2 separate regions of the Homo sapiens genome follow, and region 2 is linked to region 1. The links are contacts of gene promoters, found by promoter capture Hi-C in blood cells and fetal thymus (Javierre and others, 2016). All regions are on one chromosome and are shown on one strand. Each heading gives the region's core, a stretch centred on a gene start or on the middle of the fragment in contact. The rest is flanking DNA. Distances are from core to core; before and after follow the strand shown. Region 1 holds the start of UGT2A1 (UDP glucuronosyltransferase family 2 member A1 complex locus). Region 2 holds the start of CABS1 (calcium binding protein, spermatid associated 1).

Region 1 (5,607 bases), core at 863-3,362:
TAAATTTTAGATTGATTTGTATTTTCGAATTTAATAGAAAACTAAATGAAGTTATATTCACAACAAAAGGCTTAAAGAGGTTGTTAAGTAAAAAGATTTGGCCTAAAATGTGGGTCTGAATTTGTGTTTGTAATTACTCTGATCTTAAAATCACTGAAAAGCTAATCTGCCCTTGCCAGAAAAATTTTGAAAGAAACACATTGTATGCCTGTATCAAAACATCACAAATATGTCATAAATATATACCTATATATACTATGTGCACATAAAATTAAAAATAAAAATAAACTGTGTAATATGATTACTATATTTGTGAAAGCTCATGAATTCAGAGAAAAAAACTAACGTATTTCAGAAGAAGCTAGCATACTCAAATATTTTCATCTTAGAGAATGATAATAAAATATATACTTTGCTTAATTGTGTTACAGGTAATTAGATAGGCATTAGGAATGTCAGGTGACAGTTCCATGATTATCACACTGCCTCTCTAAAAATGAGAATTTTGCAGCCAGTAGTGCCAGGGAGAGACAAGCTCTTTATGATCCACAGCTGTTAACATTAAAGTGTTAATTGAATGCAGATGCCAGAGAGGAGCGACTGCCTGGGCACGTGCATTAAGAGACAAAATGTTGAAGTGTGACCATCCAAGGACACTTTACCAAAAAAGGGAAGAAAGCCTCAGATGAGCATATATACAACTTCCTAAACAGACTGTGCATGCTCATTTCCCAAGGGTAAGAAGGGCACTGCACATGTGGGCAGCCCACCCTAAGGGAAGAATCATGGAAAAGAGGCGAGCCTATAAAGTCCTAGGATCGAGGTTAAACGGGGCACTTCAGGTGCCCACTTGAGTCTCTTCCAAGTACGTTTTCCTTTCTTTCCTGTTCTAAAGCCTTTAAAATAAACTTCCGCTCCTGCTCTGAAACTCCCGTCAGTCTCATCTGCCTGATGCCCCCCAGTCAAATTCTTACTTCTGAGGAGGCAAGAATTGAAGTTGCTTCAGACCTGTAAGGATTCGCCACTGATAACTCAGATGCCTTCTACTGGTTAACAACTGCATACAAAAGGAGTTAGCATGGCATTCACATTAACACAATTGGTTATTGCTTTTACAACAGCATTTTCTTTAGAAAAACTTTATGTCCTTTTTTTTTTTTTTTTTTGAGACCAAGTTTTGCTCTTGTTGTCCAAGCTGGAGTGCAAGGGCATAATCTCGGGTCACTGCAACCTCCATTTCCCGGGTTCAAGCTATTCTCCTGCCTCAGCCTCCCGAGTAGCTGGGATTATAGGCGACCACCACCACACCTGTCTAATTTTTGTATATTTAGTAGAGACGGGGTTTCACCTGGTCTTGAACTTCTGACCAGAGGTGATCCACCCTCCTCGGCCTCCCAAAGTGCTGGGATTACAGGGGTGAGCCACCGCGCCTGGCCATTATTTTCTTTTTTTAATAAATAAAATTGATTTTGCATAAAACTTATTTGATTTATAGCATAAAACATTTGACTTATATTTAAAGTAAATAGATTTTAAAATAAATATTTAAAAATCCATTAAACAATATTAAGAAAATAAAATACCCACTAAAGATGACATCTCACATCCTCTCATTCATGTGTTGTCTTAAGGACCACAGTGGTCACTTGTGTACATTATTCTTGTCTTCACCATATATCAGTATAAAGTTTCTTATTTGTCACTTTATGTGTCATCTAATGAAGGAACAAACAACTCTCCACTGGTAGGAACAAAAGGCATGAGAAGAATCCCTAAAGAGGACTTTGAGTTCACACTTAGACAAAACTCTCAACTTACTGCTCTGTCCACACAGTTCCCTCGATATCTGTAAAATTATTTTGAAGTATAAAATCTGGGAGAAAAATCCATCAAATTATAAAGTAGAACTAATAATGCTTTCATGGGTAAGCAATGAAACAAACCAAAAGGTAAACCAGCGTTTTAAAGATTGATATTTCTTTAAGAAGAGAATGGAAAATAAATTAAAATATACATTTTATATTGATTATCATGAAGTTTTCTAGTTTCTTACCTGAAGTTTCCTGGAGGAACTTTAACAGCACTCATTTGACATTAGGAAGAAGCCGAATGTAAATAAATCCTAGGTGGATAAGCATAATATAATGAGTAATATGATCTTAAATGGAAAAAAGATTATGTAAAGTTGTTTATACTTAACATTTTCCACCCACTACACTGTGAAGCAGATTAACCTTTTGTCAAAGGTGTAACCTTCTGTTGGTTCCCTAGCAACTATTTGCCCTGAATTTTGCATTTACTATCATGGTCTCTGCCCCTACCCCAACTAACCAAGTATGCCAGGATATATCTAAAATAAGATTGACAATAATTAGTAATCTTGAGATTGTTATGAATAAGTATGAGCAATTAATATCCCTCAAACTTATGAAACAAACAATTATTATATTATTATGAAAAAAGTTTTAAAAATTAAAATGTCTTTATTTTTATTTATATATATATATTTTCCTGATTCATGATGATGAAAGTGGGTGGTTTGATTGATCTTTGCCATAAATAAAGAAGATAGTAATTTAGATAATGAAATAACTTTTTTAGAGTTGCACACCTTCATTATGCACCATCCTTGGGGAATAAAATTACTGCTGTTTCTTTGTGCAAATATTTTGAAGTAGCAAAAAATAACTTAGTATGTTTTTTGGCATAGCATCCCAAATATGTCATATTTAGTAATAACTAAGTACTGAGATAGAACATCACCACTTGTTGTTTTTGCTGATAAGCAAACTTATGGAAATGTGGAAATAAATTTCATACAGCTGATAAGTATGGCATAGTCCGGCAGAGACACACTTTGTATGATAACATTGAAGAGGAAATAAAGAAGAACAGTGGAGGCCCCAAGCAAGTCTTTAAGTTCAAGTCAGCTTGGATTGCATACATCTGACTACAAATATTCATCAATTCATGGAGTGCAAGTTCAATCTTGATAAAAGAGAAGTAATGTGTGTGTTTCATACAATGATTTCTCCATTTTGAATAGCTAATGTAATTAACTTCTCAGCTAAATAAAATGAGTCTTCATGCAAATATTTCAACATGAGCCCTCAAATAGAAACTTTTCTGAGTCTTTACACTTGCAGTAATATATCTTTTGCCTTCACACTTGGAACACAGCATGGGTGTTAATTAATATTTTTAATTCCTGTAGTTTTCACTCAAATCTATTTGATCATACTCTATTATCTTTTTATAATCCCAGTCACAAATACACACACACACACACACACACACACACACATTCCTTTTAAGCCAAATAATTGATAACTAATTTTTTTTTAAAAAAGCTTCTTTTCTGTTTGGTTCTCTGTACTGTAAAATTTATATCAAATATATTAACTGTAATATAAAAGTTTTTTTGCTTGTCCAAGATTTTTACTTGCTACAGGTGGTTAAATTTCTATCTAGGACAGAATGAGCAAAGCCAGTAACTGAAAATATTGAACAGCATGATTCCCAACTAGACAAAAGAGAGACTCGAAATAAGAAAAATTTATAATGAACACTGGACACAGTAGGCCTGAAGACTCCCTATGATTCCAATATATTTCTAGGTGTAAAAGATTACTGTTATTCTACTCACCCTCCCATGAAGACTAACAGGCTTCATGGGACTAACTCTATAACAAGAAAATATTTTAAATTGGTGAAGCTTTTCTTGGAAATGACTCATTTTACCCAATTCAATGACAACAATTTTCACCACTTATAATTAATGAGAAATACTGAATAAAGTATCATCAACTTCAAGGTTAACCAATAAACTTCTTTGTAAAACAACCATATTTCATACCATGTATGATAATAATTTTTATCAATGTTTAAAAAGCATTTTGAAAAATTCATGTCAAATGTTTTCTTTTCATTTTAATTTCTGAGTTATTTTTCCTATGTGTATCAGTTGTGTATTGCTGTGAAAAAAGTCACTTCAAATTTAGTAGCTTCAACCAACAATCATTTTATTTGCTACCAATTTTTTGGGTGAGAAGTTTGTGCTGGGCTCAGTTGGACAGTTCTACTGATTTCCCTGTATATACCTCATGCAGCAAAAGTCATCCTGGTGGTTCTATGTGATGGTTAATTTTTGTATCGACTTGGCTGGATGATAGTCCCCAGATATTTGGTCAAACGTCATTCTAAATATTTCTGTCTATGTGTTTTGGGAATGAGATAATATTTTACTGGATTATTCTTCACAATGCGGGTGGGCCTCATCCAGTTAGTTGAAGGCCTTAATAGACAATAATTGACATCAGACCTAAGTAAGAAGGAATTCTGCCAGCAGACTGCTTTTGGACTCAAATTGCAACTCTTCCCTGAGTCTCAAGCCTGCTGGCCTACCTTGCATATTTTGGACTTACCAAGCTTCCACGACTGTATGAAGCATTTCCTTAAAATAAATGTACATATCTGTCTCTCTACACACATACATATATACACACTCTCACACACATCCTGTTGGTTCTCTTTCTCTGGAGAACCCTAACACACTCCACTCAGACAGATTGTCTAAGGTGGCTTCACTTAAGTTTTGGATATCGACTCTTGCCGTCACTCTCTTGAAACAATGTTCTTAGACTCTCATGTAAAGAAACTCCATCTAGCTGCACCCTGGCACTGTCCCAAAAAAGTGAGGATAATACCTGCAAGGTTTCTTAAGGATTATGCCTTGAAGTCATATTTTACTTCTGTAGAGTTCTATTAGATCAAACAAGTTACCTGGCCAAGCCTAGGGTCATAGTGGGAGAATTTTGAGGGCCATATGGCAAACAGCCCACCATACAATACATTCTCAAATGGCTTCTCAAATTTTACATTCTTGTGAATGATTCTCTCTTCTTGTGATTAATTTTACACACATTACTTCAATATAAATTTTTATCTCATTGCATTTTCAGTTTTTTTGTAATTTCACATTTATGGTACTCTTACAATGTGCCATGTGCTATTCTAAGTATTTTATGTAGATTAATTTAATTCTTACAACAACCTTTTGAGGTAGGTAATACTATTTTGTTCCCATTTTCAGATGAAAATGCCAAGGCATAGAAAGCTTATGTAACTTGCCCAGTAACACTCAGAGACTTAATGTCACAACCAGTACTTAAATGTATACTATCTGACTACAGGGTATGCATGCTTAGTCATAATGTTATTAAAATATCATTTGTGATGACTGAGGCATCATGGCAGATAGGAGGCAGGACTAGATTGCAGTTCCAGACAGAGCAGGAGACAGAGGCTTGCACATTGAATTTTAGCTCCAGATCGACTGCAAGAGCAAACCGGTAATCCTGAGAGGACCCACAGATCCTCTGCCGGAAGCAGACTGTTTCTGCAGGACCAAGGAGACACCACAGATACTGTGGGTGTCCCAACTGCAGAAATTGGAAAGGGAGACCCTTCTCTTCCAAACACACACCCCACTGGAGAAGCTGTTTCTGACTTTACCTGGAGCTGAGTCAAGTTAGAGAGCTGAGCCAAGTGAAATACAGGGGTAGGGGAAGTAGCGGAAAGACCCTGGGAGCTCGCTGGGTCCCCCAA
Region 2 (5,607 bases), core at 2,182-4,681, 680 kb after region 1:
ATACATTCCTCGACACATACACTCTCCCAAGACTAAACCAGGAAGAAGTTGAATCTCTGAATAGACCAATAACAGGATCTGAAATTGTGGCAATAATCAATAGTTTACCAACCAAAAAGAGTCCAGGACCAGATGGATTCACAGCCGAATTCTACCAGAGGTACAAGGAGGAACTGGTACCATTCCTTCTGAAACTATTCCAATCAATAGAAAAAGAGGGAATCCTCCCTAACTCATTTTATGAGGCCAGCATCATTCTGATACCAAAGCCAGGCAGAGACACAACCAAAAAAGAGAATTTTAGACCAATATCCTTGATGAACATTGATGCAAAAATCCTCAATAAAATACTGGCAAACCGAATCCAGCAGCACATCAAAAAGCTTATCCACCATGATCAAGTGGGCTTCATCCCTGGGATGCAAGGCTGGTTCAATATACGCAAATCAATAAATGTAATCCAGCATATAAACAGAGCCAAAGACAAAAACCACATGATTATCTCAATAGATGCAGAAAAGGCCTTTGACAAAATTCAACAACCCTTCATGCTAAAAACTCTCAATAAATTAGGTATTGATGGGACGTATTTCAAAATAATAAGAGCTATCTATGACAAACCCACAGCCAATATCATACTGAATGGGCAAAAACTGGAAGCATTCCCTTTGAAAACTGGCACAAGACAGGGATGCCCTCTCTCACCGCTCCTATTCAACATAGTGTTGGAAGTTCTGGCCAGGGCAATCAGGCAGGAGAAGGAAATAAAGGGTATTCAATTAGGAAAAGAGGAAGTCAAATTGTCCCTGTTTGCAGACGACATGATTGTTTATGTAGAAAACCCCATCGTCTCAGCCCAAAATCTCCTTAAGCTGATAAGCAACTTCAGCAAAGTCTCAGGATACAAAATCAATGTACAAAAATCACAAGCATTCTTATACACCAACAACAGACAAACAGAGAGCCAAATCATGGGTGAACTCCCATTCACAATTGCTTCAAAGAGAATAAAATACCTAGGAATCCAACTTACAAGGGATGTGAAGGACCTCTTCAAGGAGAACTACAAACCACTGCTCAAGGAAATAAAAGAGGACACAAACAAATGGAAGAACATTCCATGCTCATGGGTAGGAAGAATCAATATCGTGAAAATGGCCATACTGCCCAAGGTAATTTATAGATTCAATGCCATCCCCATCAAGCTACCAATGACTTTCTTCACAGAATTGGAAAAAACTACTTTAAAGTTCATATGGAACCAAAAAAGAGCCCGCATTGCCAAGTCAATCCTAAGCCAAAAGAACAAAGCTGGAGGCATCACACTACCTGACTTCAAACTATACTACAAGGCTACAGTAACCAAAACAGCATGGTACTGGTACCAAAACAGAGATATAGATCAATGGAACACAACAGAGCCCTCAGAAATAATGCCGCATATCTACAACTATCTGATCTTTGACAAACCTGAGAAAAACAAGCAATGGGGAAAGGATTCCCTATTTAATAAATGGTGCTGGGAAAACTGGCTAGCCATATGTAGAAAGCTGAAACTGGATCCCTTCCTTACACCTTATACAAAAATCAATTCAAGATGGATTAAAGATTTAAACGTTAAACCTAAAACCATAAAAACCCTAGAAGAAAACCTAGGCATTACCATTCAGGACATAGGCGTGGGCAAGGACTTCATGTCCAAAACACCAAAAGCAATGGCAACAAAAGACAAAATTGACAAATGAGATCTAATTAAACTAAAGAGCTTCTGCACAGCAAAAGAAACTACCATCAGAGTGAACAGGCAACCTACAACATGGGAGAAAATTTTCGCATCCTACTCATCTGACAAAGGGCTAATATCCAGAATCTACAATGAACTCAAACAAATTTACAAGAAAAAAACAAACAACCCCATCAAAAAGTGGGCGAAGGACATGAACAGACACTTCTCAAAAGAAGACATTTATGCAGCCAAAAAACACATGAAGAAATGCTCATCATCACTGGCCATCAGAGAAATGCAAATCAAAACCACTATGAGATATCATCTCACACCAGTTAGAATGGCAATCATTAAAAAGTCAGGAAACAACAGGTGCTGGAGAGGATGTGGAGAAATAGGAACACTTTTACACTGTTGGTGGGACTGTAAACTAGTTCAACCATTGTGGAAGTCAGTGTGGCGATTCCTCAGGGATCTAGAACTAGAAATACCATTTGACCCAGCCATCCCATTACTGGGTATATACCCAAATGAGTATAAATCATGCTGCTATAAAGACACATGCACACGTATGTTTATTGCGGCACTATTCACAATAGCAAAGACTTGGAACCAACCCAAATGTCCAACAATGATAGACTGGATTAAGAAAATGTGGCACATATACACCATGGAATACTATGCAGCCATAAAAAATGATGAGTTCATATCCTTTGTAGGGACATGGATGAAATTGGAAACCATCATTCTCAGTAAACTATCGCAAGAACAAAAAACCAAACACCGCATATTCTCACTCATAGATGGGAATTGAACAATGAGATCACATGGACACAGGAAGGGGAATATCACACTCTGGGGACTGTGGTGGGGTTGGGGGAGGGGGGAGGGATAGTATTGGGAGATATACCTAATGCTAGATGACACATTAGTGGGTGCAGCGCACCAGCATGGCACATGTATACATATGTAACTAACCTGCACAATGTGCACATGTACCCTAAAACTTAGAGTATAATAAAAAAAATAAAATAAAATAAAATAAAAATAAATGAAAAAAAAAAAAACAAAAAACAAAAAAAGAAAAAAAAAAAAAAAAGACCCAAACAGGCCAATAACTATTAGTTATTATCTCTACTGAAAAAGTGGGACTTCCTGTTATGAATAAGGGAACTAACTGAATTCCCTGCTACCTAATTACCTTCTGTAGCTATACTTACTGACAAAAACACCATTAATTTTTTTAGATACCAATTTTTTTTAATACTATGAATCTTAAGGGAAAATGGCTTCACCTCAAAAATACTCTGTTACTTGCTTGGAAGATAGACGACTTTAAGCTGATGCTGATAAACTTGTGGCTTCCAAAGTTTTCCTTACTAATTCTAAACCCAAAAGGTGCCTGGCAGTCTCTGCTATGTCTGTTTCAAGTAACCCTAGCTCTATATCAGGAGACATTTTCCTTATAAACAGAAACATGGTAAATCTTAAGTTCCCTGCAATTGAAATGCTTGGCTGTGAATTTGATTTCATAATCAGAGCGGACTCTATAGTCTTTTCATTCAATATTCCTGCAATTAGATAACCAATCGCAGCCTAGAAACAACCTCCAAGGAGACCCAGTGACATTGCTCCCATAGTTGATGCAACAATCACCATGATGACCCAAGCTTTAATCACTCTGATGAACACTGCTCTCCTGCCTAGAGATACCACTGAGTCCAGAAGCAAGACCTGTGAGAGTGCACAGTGCCACTTCGCCCCATGGCTGAAGATGGTTTGCCCAAAATTTATTCTCATCCTCCAACAGAAAGCAGTAAAACACCAACTGCAGCAACCATTTTCTTTGGGGCTGACAATGCTATTCCCAAATCAGAAACAACTATTACTTCAGAAGGAGACCACGTCACTTCAGTAAATGAATATATGCTAGAAAGCGATTTTTCAACAACTACAGACAACAAACTGACAGCTAAAAAGGAAAAACTCAAATCAGAAGATGATATGGGGACCGACTTTATTAAGTCAACAACTCACCTACAGAAAGAAATTACCTCTCTGACTGGCACTACAAACTCCATAACAAGAGACTCTATTACCGAACATTTCATGCCAGTGAAAATTGGGAATATTTCATCACCAGTTACTACTGTTTCTTTAATAGATTTTTCCACTGACATAGCAAAAGAAGATATCCTCTTAGCTACCATTGACACAGGAGATGCAGAGATCTCAATAACCTCTGAAGTCTCTGGCACACTAAAGGACAGCAGTGCTGGTGTTGCTGACGCTCCTGCCTTTCCACGTAAAAAGGATGAAGCTGATATGAGCAATTATAATTCCTCCATCAAATCCAATGTCCCTGCTGATGAGGCTGTCCAGGTCACTGATTCCACTATTCCTGAGGCTGAAATCCCTCCTGCTCCTGAAGAAAGCTTCACTACTATTCCAGACATAACTGCCCTTGAAGAAGAGAAAATAACCGAAATTGACCTAAGTGTTTTAGAAGATGACACCAGTGCTGTGGCTACATTAACTGACTCTGATGAGAAGTTTATCACTGTGTTTGAACTCACTACCTCTGCTGAAAAAGACAAAGATAAACGGGAAGATACTCTGCTAACTGATGAAGAAACTACCGAGGGAGCCAGTATTTGGATGGAGAGAGATACTGCAAATGAAGCAGAGACCCATTCTGTTTTGCTTACTGCTGTTGAATCCAGATATGACTTCGTTGTCCCTGCATCAATAGCTACAAACCTAGTGGAAGAATCATCTACAGAAGAAGATTTGTCTGAAACTGATAATACAGAGACTGTACCTAAGATCACTGAGCCATTTTCTGGAACTACCTCTGTATTAGATACCCCAGACTATAAGGAAGACACCTCCACAACTGAAACGGATATCTTTGAACTACTGAAAGAAGAACCCGATGAGTTCATGATTTAAAAGCAACAAAAGGGATACCATGTAGAATTGTGCAATAGTCTAGCCAGCTAGCCTTAACATCTAAGAAATTTTTCCAACAAGCAAAAACCTTTAGAAATGAAAGAATGTGGGCATTTAAGGCAAGTATTCGACTCAATAAATGCAGATGCTTAGGACTACAGGTCATGTAACAGATTTACGGAAACTTAGAAAAAAAAACCGCAGTGTAAGGGTCCCCCTAGTATCACAAAGTTTCAATATTCTAACAATTACTTAATGTAAAATTTTTCGTCCTAGCCTTCAGGGAGTATGAAGACAGAGCAATGTAGGGGCTCATTTCTACAACATTTAATGATGCATATCATTTAGTTAACAGTCAATATTATACTTAAGTGAGAATTAAGGATATGAAGAGAAGCAAATTAACCTCTCCAAAACATTACCATAGCCTAAAAAGTTCTCCCAAAATGCTTGTTCTAAGCAATTTTTTCATTAGTATTTCATCAGTGATTCTCTTCTATTTAAAAAATTTTTAATCCTCATATAAGAATTAAGACAATTCAGTAATTGTTTAGCACCCACATGTAAGATACATAAGATTTATGATAGGGTTCTTGGCACATGTTAGATACAAACTAAAGCAAAATGATATTTTACAAATATGCATATTTGTCAGAAAAATGTTCTGTAAACATATACATCAATTTAATTTTCTTTCTGTTAAAATGTGTTTTCTGAATTTTTGTCCATGTTTTCCAGGTCTTAAACACTGAATATCACACTCTTCTTATGACTCTTGTTAGCGATTCAAGGACATAAATCTTCATTCTTTTCTGGCACAGACTACTTAAATGGGTCTGTTTTCACTTTGCTCATTTTTCTTCAATAAATCTTTTTGGCAAGCAACTGATTTACTGTGTGTAGGTGTGTTTGATATTCTACTACAGACT

The links. Contacts are between HindIII fragments. The CHiCAGO score rates a contact against its expected background, and 5 or more counts as called.
Region 2: a contact is called between the fragment with the promoter of CABS1 here and the fragment with the promoter of UGT2A1 in region 1, in 5 of 17 cell types (naive B cells, monocytes, M0 macrophages and 2 more). The highest score is 6.5, in naive B cells.

What each region holds. Positions count from the first base shown.
Region 1 is chr4:69,651,135-69,656,741 of GRCh38, forward strand. UGT2A1 (UDP glucuronosyltransferase family 2 member A1 complex locus) reads right to left here and starts at 2,113. Exons shown (of 7, transcript NM_001252275.3): 1 at 2,054-2,113. RefSeq lists an enhancer at 5,190-5,607. The HindIII fragment of the contact is 6,501 bases long and covers 1-3,348 here.
Region 2 is chr4:70,331,550-70,337,156 of GRCh38, forward strand. It overlaps CABS1 (calcium binding protein, spermatid associated 1), which reads left to right and starts at 3,432. Exons shown (of 2, transcript NM_033122.4): 1 at 3,432-4,797; 2 at 5,417-5,567. The coding sequence starts at 3,491. The coding sequence ends at 4,678. The HindIII fragment of the contact is 765 bases long and covers 3,395-4,159 here.